Regions from separate parts of the Homo sapiens genome. Here all the other regions are linked to region 3. The links are contacts of gene promoters, found by promoter capture Hi-C in human tissues and cell types (Jung and others, 2019). All regions are on one chromosome and are shown on one strand. Each heading gives the region's core, a stretch centred on a gene start or on the middle of the fragment in contact. The rest is flanking DNA. Distances are from core to core; before and after follow the strand shown.

What was found. Contacts are between HindIII fragments. The study calls those that stand out against the background at their distance.
Region 1: a contact is called between a fragment that was not itself captured here and the fragment with the promoter of SLC28A3 in region 3, in 2 of the 25 tissues and cell types used here (dorsolateral prefrontal cortex and lymphoblastoid cells).
Region 2: a fragment that was not itself captured here is called in contact with the fragment with the promoter of SLC28A3 in region 3 in 2 of the 25 tissues and cell types used here (aorta and stomach).

Annotation. Positions count from the first base shown.
Region 1 is chr9:84,795,769-84,798,875 of GRCh38, reverse strand. All of the region lies in intron 12 of NTRK2 (neurotrophic receptor tyrosine kinase 2), which reads right to left. Among named protein-coding and RNA genes, the nearest start is that of NTRK2, 130 kb to the right of the region's middle. The HindIII fragment of the contact is 5,426 bases long and covers 1-3,107 here.
Region 2 is chr9:83,998,660-84,001,816 of GRCh38, reverse strand. It overlaps RMI1 (RecQ mediated genome instability 1), which reads right to left. Exons shown (of 3, transcript NM_001358291.2): 2 at 2,020-2,108; 3 at 1-866. The coding sequence starts at 830. Among named protein-coding and RNA genes, the nearest start is that of RMI1, 19 kb to the right of the region's middle. The HindIII fragment of the contact is 5,241 bases long and covers 1-3,157 here.
Region 3 is chr9:84,338,705-84,342,058 of GRCh38, reverse strand. It overlaps SLC28A3 (solute carrier family 28 member 3), which reads left to right and starts at 1,301. Exons shown (of 18, transcript NM_001199633.2): 1 at 1,301-1,485. The coding sequence starts at 1,426. The HindIII fragment of the contact is 14,043 bases long and covers 1-3,354 here.

The DNA.
Region 1 (3,107 bases), core at 384-2,883, 460 kb before region 3:
AAATATCAGCTGTTTCCATTATCTGCAGACCTAGGTCTCAGCTTTTGTCCTTGAAGTGGCAAATGCTTTATGTTCACAAAGAGTTGCAAATGAATGAAACAGATCTACTTTGTTAGGACACACTGGTCAACATACGCACCAAACGGAAAAGACAATTCAGGTTGAGATTGTAAATAAAAATAATCATCTGTGTCAGATAAGAAATAGGCTGTCTTATCACTGTATCCGGGAACTTTTGTGAAGAAAGGAAATTTGGAGACCCTATAGCCCATTTTCTTCAGTCAATATCACCCTTTCACTTAGGACATAAGGAAGGTAAGTTTCTGAGAGGTTAAGTAACTTGCTCCAGGGCACAGGGCCAGCCAAGGGCAGACTCAGGGCCCCTGTCATTGTGTCAGCAGCAGACTCAGTGCTAGAATGAAATACAATATGGTGAGACCATCTTTCATGACAGGCTAAAGCTGAAGACAGAAACAGAACCCATTGTTTTGATATGAAAATTAATACCCCTCCTATGGTCTGAATGTGTGTGTCCTCCTAAAATTCATATGCTGAAACCTAATTCCCAGTGTGATGATATTAACAGGTGGGGCATTTGGGAGGTATAATAACTAGGTCATGAGGGTGGAGCCCTCATGAATGAAATTAATGTCCTCACAAAAGAGGCCCAAGGGAGCTCATGCGCTCCTTCCACCAGATGAAGACACAATGAGAAGGTGCCATCTATGAACCAGAAAATGGGCCCTCACCTGACAATGAATCTGCTGGTGCCTTGATATCGGACTTCCCAGCCTCCAGGACTGTGAAAAATAAATTTCTGTTGTTTATCAACCACCCAGTCTGTGATACTTTGTTATAGCGGCAAGACTAAGACAGTCCCAATGGCTCATACCCAGGAGTCCTGAACACACTACTGCTACATTTTACTTTATATATTTTACTAATAGTAAATATTAATAGTAATTAGTAATTATTATAGTAATAATAATTATTACTATATTATATATATTATTATAGTATATATAATATATAATATATATATTATTATAGTATATATAATATATAATATATATATTATTATAGTATATATAATATATATTATATATATTATTATAGTATATATAATATATATTATAGTATATATAATATATAATATATATATTATTATAGTATATATAATATATATATTATAGTATATATAATATATAATATATAATATATATATTATTATAGTATATATAATATATAATATATAGTATATATATTATATATAATATATAGTATATATAGTATATATAATATATATAATATATAGTATATATAATATATATATTATATATACATTATTATAGTAATAATAATAGTAATTATTATGTTACTTTACTTAAACATTAAAGTAATTTCCACATGAAGAGAAGAGGGATCCAGTCACTGTGTTCAGCTTTCACGGAATCCCCCATAACTAGTTATGCAGGTATCACCAAACTTTTTCTGCAAAGGGACAAATAGTAAATAATTTTCAAATTTTCAGGTCATTCCATTTCTGCCACAACTGCTCATTCTGCCATTGTAGTATGAAAGCAACATAGACAACATGTGAGAAATGAGTCGGTGTGTTCCAGTAAAACTTAAATTTATGAAAAATAGATAGCAGGTGAGATCTGGCCCAGGGGCTGTAATTTGCTCACCTTTGGGTAATGCAACCACCTGCCTGATGCTCTCTTTATTTCTTTAATTTTTCCCATGTTAAGCTTCCTCCTTCAGTGAACATCGTACTGTTTCAATATACTTAACAGGGTATATTCAATATGCGGTAGAATCTAATTTATTAAGACTAGAAATAAAAGCCAGTGTGAATTTATGAAAGCTCTAAGTTAGGAAATATATTTAAAGAAATGCAGCTTTATTACTTTCATATATATAAAGGAATCAAAATTAAGCCAATAAAACATTTCCAGCATGTTTTGGCAAGTAGGGGGTAATTCAGCCTTACCCAAAAGAAAAAAATAATTTAAGATTATATGATTCATCAATTGTTTTCATGAGATTCCTTTGAAAATGCTTAAAAAGTTTGTTTCCTAAGATGGTGATATATGATTCCTACCACCCATCTTGTTTCCACTAGTCATTAATTTAGAAATTCCTTTGTTCATGAAAGATACCCTAATATTCCACCAACCCAATTCCTCACTAAATTAATGATCTGAATCAGCAAGAGTTTTTGAACTTTCAGAAAAGCTAAATAAATTGTAATCCTATGACATCATAGATTAATACCATCTTTTGAAATAGCTTTACTGCTCTCTGTCTAAGGACCTCTGTCTGACCTTTGGCAGATATTGTAGATTGGCTGTTCAAAATCCATTCACAAACCCCCTTTCCTTTGTCTTCCTCTACCCTGGATGGAAAGGATCCAATATACTTTTTCCCAGCACCTCTTGAAACTAAGTGTGGGCTCGTGACATAACTCTGGCCACTGAGATATAGCTAGAAGGTAAGGGGGAAGGATCTTCTAATCTTGAATTAAAAGAAAAAGCCTCCTTATCCTTCTTCATTCTTTCTAGTTGGGATATAGTTTTAAGGTCTTGAGGCAAAGCAGCCTTTTTGAGACCACTAGGTCACAAACAAGAGGAGAAGGCCTAGATGCTGAGGATAGCAGATATGAAAGGTGGAAAGAGCCAGAATGTCCCTGATAACATTAAGCCACCTTAATAACCCTGGATCCCAGAATTCTTGCTGTGCGAAAAAAACCTATCTGTTTAAGTGGTTGCTGTTTTTATTTGTTGGTTGCAGTAGCTAATGCAATCCCATGTGACACAATTCATGGAGGCCTTGGCGTCAGTTCTGTGAGATAGGGAGCAGGGATGTGGTCAACTATAAATTAAAGAATCTTAGCTACTACCAAAAAAAAAAAAAAGAAAAGTAATCAGCTTTGAAGTGACATTGTGACATCTATATAGCACCTGGAACTCTATGCAAGGTGCAAGGGTCCATATTACATACTTGCAGCCCAACAGAGCCATAGGAGAGCAGCCAAACCTCCCTTAAAGGGCCATGGCAGTGGCCAAGAGAGGGAGGATGTACTCAGGTGCATGAGCAAGGAGCCA
Region 2 (3,157 bases), core at 217-2,716, 340 kb after region 3:
GTATTTGAGGAACTACCTGTGGTGAAACATCGTTCTGAGGAAGTGTCATTATTTGCTGTAAGCTCATCATTTTCATCAAGACTTGCCAAGAGTTCTTCATCAGAAGGACCTAATGCAGGATCTAGAACATCTGTAACTCTGGGAATGTTTTCGTTAGAATTGTTTGGTATGACTGAAACTACAAGATCAGGTTCCCCTATTAATCTTGCAAGTACTTTTTCTTGGGCATATTCTTCTAAAAGAGCATCTACTTCACCTCCTAACACTTTCACGTTTTCTGGTTTCAATAAGAGAACACCAAGACGGAAAGATATATTTCCATAAATCAAAATTTTTGTACCTGGAGGAAGATCACTATGAAGAATTGGAATAGGCTGATATTCCATTCCCTGTATTTGTACGATTCCATCAGTTAGCTGCAGCATCAACATTCGTGAAGGCTTTGCTTCCCAAGGTTTTGGGGTTACTTGTGCTTCAGCTGTAACTAGATCATTTGTTGTATTCTTTCCTCTCAACTTCTGTATCTGGGAGTATGCAGGCTGACTTACATCAACCAAGGAATTAATCTGCAGAGCATAAAATCCATTTAATTCTCCTTTTGGAATTTCTAAAATGCCATCGGGTAAAAGAGGATGCTCCAAATCCCTCAGATCAGTAAGGAGCCACTGCTCAAACACTTGTTTATTCATTTGGGCCTGACTCAAGTTAACATTATTATTTTCTTCTTGAATCCAGTTAATACAAGCTTCCAGCCACATCGGAGGTACTTTAACATGCCATGCAGCTAAAAGCCAAGTTTCAGCTCTTAATGCAATACTAGTCACATTCATTTCTTTTAAATAAAAGAAATAATATGCATCTATTACCTGAAAACAAAAAACAAAAAAATTTAGATAATTCAGTATATTTGAATACAGCTTCTGTAATTCTCTACAATGCACAGACAGGCACACCCTTTAGATTTTTCACTCTTCAGCATCTTACATGGTCGAAATTGAAACACTACACATAATCAGATGGTAAAATGAGAAAATCAAAAGGTTTGAGACAGCTATACCTAGGTTTGAAAGCTGGCTCTGTCAAGTTACAAGATATGTGACCTAATATAAAATTCTCAACTTCTGTAACCAGTTTTTTCATCTATAAAATGTCAACACTACCATCTATCTTATAGGATTGTTAACAGGATCACATGAATTATATTTGTAAAGCATAATGTCAGACCTATAAAGGATATTCAGTAAACAGTAGTTACATTAGCCTCCCTTATCTATGGGGAATATGCTCCAATACCCCCAGTGGATGTCTGAAACTCTAAATATTATCAAACTTAATATATATTATTTTTTTAAATCCGATGACCAACCAGCTACTAAGTGACTAAAGGGTGGGTAGCATAAACAGCATAGATATGCTGGACAAAGGGATGATCCAAGTCCAGGGTATGATTTCATCACACTATTCGGAACAGCACTAAATTTAAAACTTATGAATTATTTCTGGAATTTTCTGCTAAATATTTTCAGACCTTGGTTGACTGCAGATAACTGAAACCACAGAAAGCAAAACCACGGAGAAAGGGAGACTACTGTATAATATATTATAATTGATCTAATAATCACATTCTAATCATTTAAAATTTAGTTAAGAAACAATGTTCACTAATGTTCTTTATGTATGTGCAATAGTTCTAATTTAACTCTATTAAAACATACCACTGTGTCTGTCCATTTAGTACTTGAATATGTGGTCTAAAGATAAAATTATAACAAATAACAGCAGACTCTGAGCTGATAGATGTAAAGCATCTTATTTGTTGGGCTAAATATTTTCAAAAGTCTGGCCAGGCAAATATATAAATATTTAACTTCTGATTTTCTCAGTATGATAAAGCAGTAGCAAAACAGTAAAGCCCAATCAATCATGTGTTCACAAAAGTATACTTTGTTCCTTCTACAGATGAAGATATTTATGAAGTAGAATATATTAAAGTTTTACTATGTCCATAAGAAAACTTACCACGAGGAACAGCAGCACAGGATTTGATGACAGAATTTGGAACTGGTTGTTAGTGGATTACTTGAAACCTCCACTGCTCAGAAATGGCCCTGGGAGATAAGACAAAAAGCAGTAAGAGTTATAAGATGAAGTTGTAGAAAGACAGGACTATTTTCTTAAGTGCAAGAGTTTGATGGTATGGTTCATGGGGATCAGAAACAAGAGACCATGAGAAAGTTACACATTCTCTCTAAGCCTGTTTCCTTTTCTATATACTTACCTCATAGGCTTACTGTGAAAATTAAAGAAGATAGGAGGTATAGTATTTGATGTTAAGAGTACATCTCTGGTGCTAGACTATATCATAAACTCTTACTTATAACCTCTGACTCTAAACAAGTTACTCAACTTCATGATATCCTACTTATCCTTATCTGATTTGTAAAACAAGAATAACAGGATTTTCCTCAGGCTTGTTATGAAGATTAGATTAATATGAAAAAAGCAGCACCTGGCACACAGCGAGAACTCAGTAAATGTATACTATTATTAGACTTACAGTGCCTACTACAGCAACTGGCAAAAAGCAGCCACTCAAAAACTATACTTATTGTTATTTTATTTTTTTTTATTTTATTTTATTCTATTCTATTTTATTCTATTTTATTTTACTTTTTTGAGACAGAGTCTTGCTCTGTCGCCCAGGGTGGACTGCAGTGGCGCAATCTCGGCTCACTGCAACCTCTGCCTCCCAGGTTCAATCGATTCTCCTGCCTCAGCATCCCCAGTAGCTGGGACTACAGGTGTGTGCCACCACACCTGGCTACTTTTTGTATTTTTAGTAGAGACAGGGTTTCGCCATGTTGGCCAGGCTGGTCTCAAATTCCTGACCTCAAGTGATCTGCCCACCTCAGCCTCCCAAAGTCCTGGGATTACAGGTGTGAGCAATCGCGCCCAGCCATTATTTTAGACTGAATGACCAATTCCTACATTGGATAAGTTCTACACTGCTCTGAAATTACTGAAATGAGACTTTTTTGTAGGTTCTCAAGAAAATAATATATACCTACCTGAGATTTTAGGGGTTTAAACCCTGAAAATGCTAATACAGCTCACCTTAAGCTACTGCTATAACAAAACTATTTTACATTGCATCCCC
Region 3 (3,354 bases), core at 52-2,551:
CTCCTGGGTTCAAGCGATTCTCCCGCCTCAGCCTCCCGAGTAGCTGGGACTACAGGCGCACGTTATCACTCCTGGCTAATTTTTGTATTTTTAGTAGAGATGGAGTTTCGCCATGTTGGCCAGGCTGGTCTTGAACTCCTGGCCTAAAGTGATCCACCCGCCTTGGGCTCCCAAAGTGCTGGGATTACAGGCGTGAGCCACCGCACCAGGCCTTTTCCATTCTTTTGTCCACAGTTTTGCAGTATTTTAAATTGTACTAGGGGGGAAAATCCCTATTTTAAAAGAATTCTACAGCTAATATTTTCATAAAGCAAAGTGAATTGCTTTATGAAAACAAAGCACTTCTATTCACTTTTGATAATTGAATAGCTGGTCACCTTTCATTTACTTGTCACATATCGGCATTTCTGTAAGCTGGATTTTTGAAAGCAGCCCAGTCTGAAGCAGGGATGTAATAAAAGGTTTTGGAATTAACCAAACTTGAATTTGAATTCTCATTATCCCTTTATTAGCTAAATGACACTAAACAAATTGTTAACTTTTCTGTACTTCAGTATAGAATTTTGAGTTGTTCGGAAGAAGAGCCAAGACCCTTACCTACCTACCTATCTGTCTATGTATCTATCCATCTATCCATCCCTGGTATACAGTAGGTGATCACTGAGGGCGGCATGACCTTATATCCTGTGTTCACTCACCCTCCACCCCACCACCACTCCTAGTCTTTAACACCACCCACAGGAAAACAGAGGATTTCACTAAGCACTATAGAGAACGTGTCCTTTTCTGGCTGGGCACGGTGGCTCATGCCTGTAATCCCAGCAATTTAGGAGGCCAAGGCAGGTGGATCACTTGAGGTCAGGAGTTCAAGAACAGCCTGGCCAACATGGTGAAACCCCGTCTCTACTAAAAATAAAGTCAGCCAGGTGTGGTGGCATGCACCTGTAATCCCAGCTACTTGAGAGGCTGAGGCAGGAGAATTGCTTGAACCTGGGAGGCAGAGGTTGCAGTGAACCGAGATTGCGTCACTGCACTCCAGCCTTTTTTTTTTTGAGACTCCATCTCAAAAAAAAAAAGAAAGAAAGAAAGAAAAAGAAAGTGTCCTTTTCTGTTTTGTGCACCACAAGAGTTTTCTCCCCAGGAGTGCAAATAGGATGCCAAAAATGGGGATAAAGGAAAAGATTAATAAGGTGGGCGGGCCAGCACTAGATGCCTCCACCCCGCCAACCCGCCCGCCTCTCTGCCCCACCCCAACCAGGTGTCAGCCCTAGTCATTCAGGAGATTATTGCAGAAGTTTCCAAACTGAAGCAAGCTGTGCCCAGGTCCCTGTAACAGCAGGTGGCTTTCTGACATCAGCAGAGACTGGTGCTTTTTCCCAGGTACAAAGGACCTCCAGACCAGAGCCAGCCAGCAGCAAAAAGAGCATGGAGCTGAGGAGTACAGCAGCCCCCAGAGCTGAGGGCTACAGCAACGTGGGCTTCCAGGTGAGCAGAGCTTTCCTCTTATGTTAAAGGCCTTCAGTGGAAAAGCTGCCCTTTCCTTAGCCCCTTGGCAAGTTTCTTACCTAAGCAGGGAGATTATCAGGACAATACGATTTTTAACGGCACACTTTAAGCCCATTATTTTTTCTTCTTGGGCTCTTCTGGGTTGACAAACCTGAAAAGTCTCTTTTAATCGATGTGTTGTGATCCCTATGGTCACTTAGAAACAAGACAGCCTTCTTCTCTTGCCTTTTTTCCCTTCTGGCTCACAGCAGGGGTCCATTATTTATCTTCAGGCACTTTTCCAAAGAACTGGTGAGAAGGGAAAAATGGGGGAATTTAGATCCTGGCTGGGGTAGTGTCTCAGGGTTCCTTTTACTCAAGCCAAGTCCTGGAGCCCCTGTCAGATGGCCCCGGTACCTGCCCCAGAGCAGCTGGATTACGCAAATCAGTCTCACTTCATCAACCAAAACTCACTGAGTGATTAATGCTGCTCAGCCCGAGGCTGGGTGCCCGCAGAGACATAGAAGGAGACCTGTCAGAAACACCAGGCTATTTTGACTGGGTCTGGGATGGGGATTTCCAGGGCTGTTTTTAGGTGTGCTTCCTTTCCTTAGCTGACACTCAGCATGGGCGCTCTGGAGAAGATGGGAAGCCTGCACCGGCAAGTGTCAACAATCCCTTGGACTTTACGGTCTGCTAGATGGGCAAAACAAAACTTTGAGGTGCTAGCCAAGAAAGGAAAGAGGGAGGTAAAAGGGCTTTGACAGGAGTTCAGACTCCAGCACCCACAAATTCCTGTAACTTCCCAGAGCCCAAGTTTGATCATCTGTCCCATGGTCACAGTGATGCCCATCTCCATGAGTAGGCATCGGGTTACCACTTATAGGTCACAAGTGTAGGAGAGGAAACAACTTCATCTACCCTCTTAGGTTGAGTGCCTGAGGCCTGCAAATTAAACCAACATAAAACAGATTAGCAGGAGAAAAGGCACGCAAATTTTATTCATATTTAAAATCTCACATGTGGCTGGCAGTGGTGCCTCATGCCTGTAATCCTAGCACTTTGGGAGGCTGAGGCGGGCTGATCATTTGAGGTCAGGAATTTGAGACCAGCCTGGCCAACATAGTGAAACCCCATCTCTACTAAAAATACAAAAATCAGCCGGGCATGGTGGTACATGCCTGTAGTCCCAGCTACTCGGGAGGCCGAGGCAGGAGAATCACTTGAATCTGGGAGGCAGAGGCTGCAGTGAGCCAAGATCGTGCCTCTGTACTCCAGCCTGGTTGACAGAGGGAGACTCAGTCTCAAAAAAATAATAATAATAAAATAAAATCTCACATGTATGAGAGCCTCACATAAAAGAAACGGAAAAACCTAATAGACTCAGGAGCTTATATACCATTAAAACAAAGCACGGCAAATAGTGAAATGACTAGACAAAGGAAAAGAGGGTTATGCTTTTAGGGACAATAAAGTGGGGGTGGGAGGTGGAAATAATGGAAGATAAGGGTTAATTTATCGAGGTTTGTTCATGCAGATTTATCTCAGCGGCATCTCTGTCTTTGGTGATAAGGGTTGCTCTCTTCCTTGTATGAGCAAGCGGGACACCTGTGCAAGGGAAATATCAATAAATGTGCTGCTTTTAGGAAGATGGGGGATGGGGGAGGGCAGAGAGCTCTTTCTGTGTCTGCTTTCTTTTTCATAGCCTTCAGTTCAAAATATTCTTGTGCCAAAATGTGGGCATTTGGAGGGTGGCACATCCTGATCTCTTCTCTAAGGGCTAAGTGAGGGGGAAAAGCATAAAGCATGGGCCCATTCTGATTCCAGAGAATGGAAAGGATGGAATTGGATAGAGTCAGAGGAAGTATG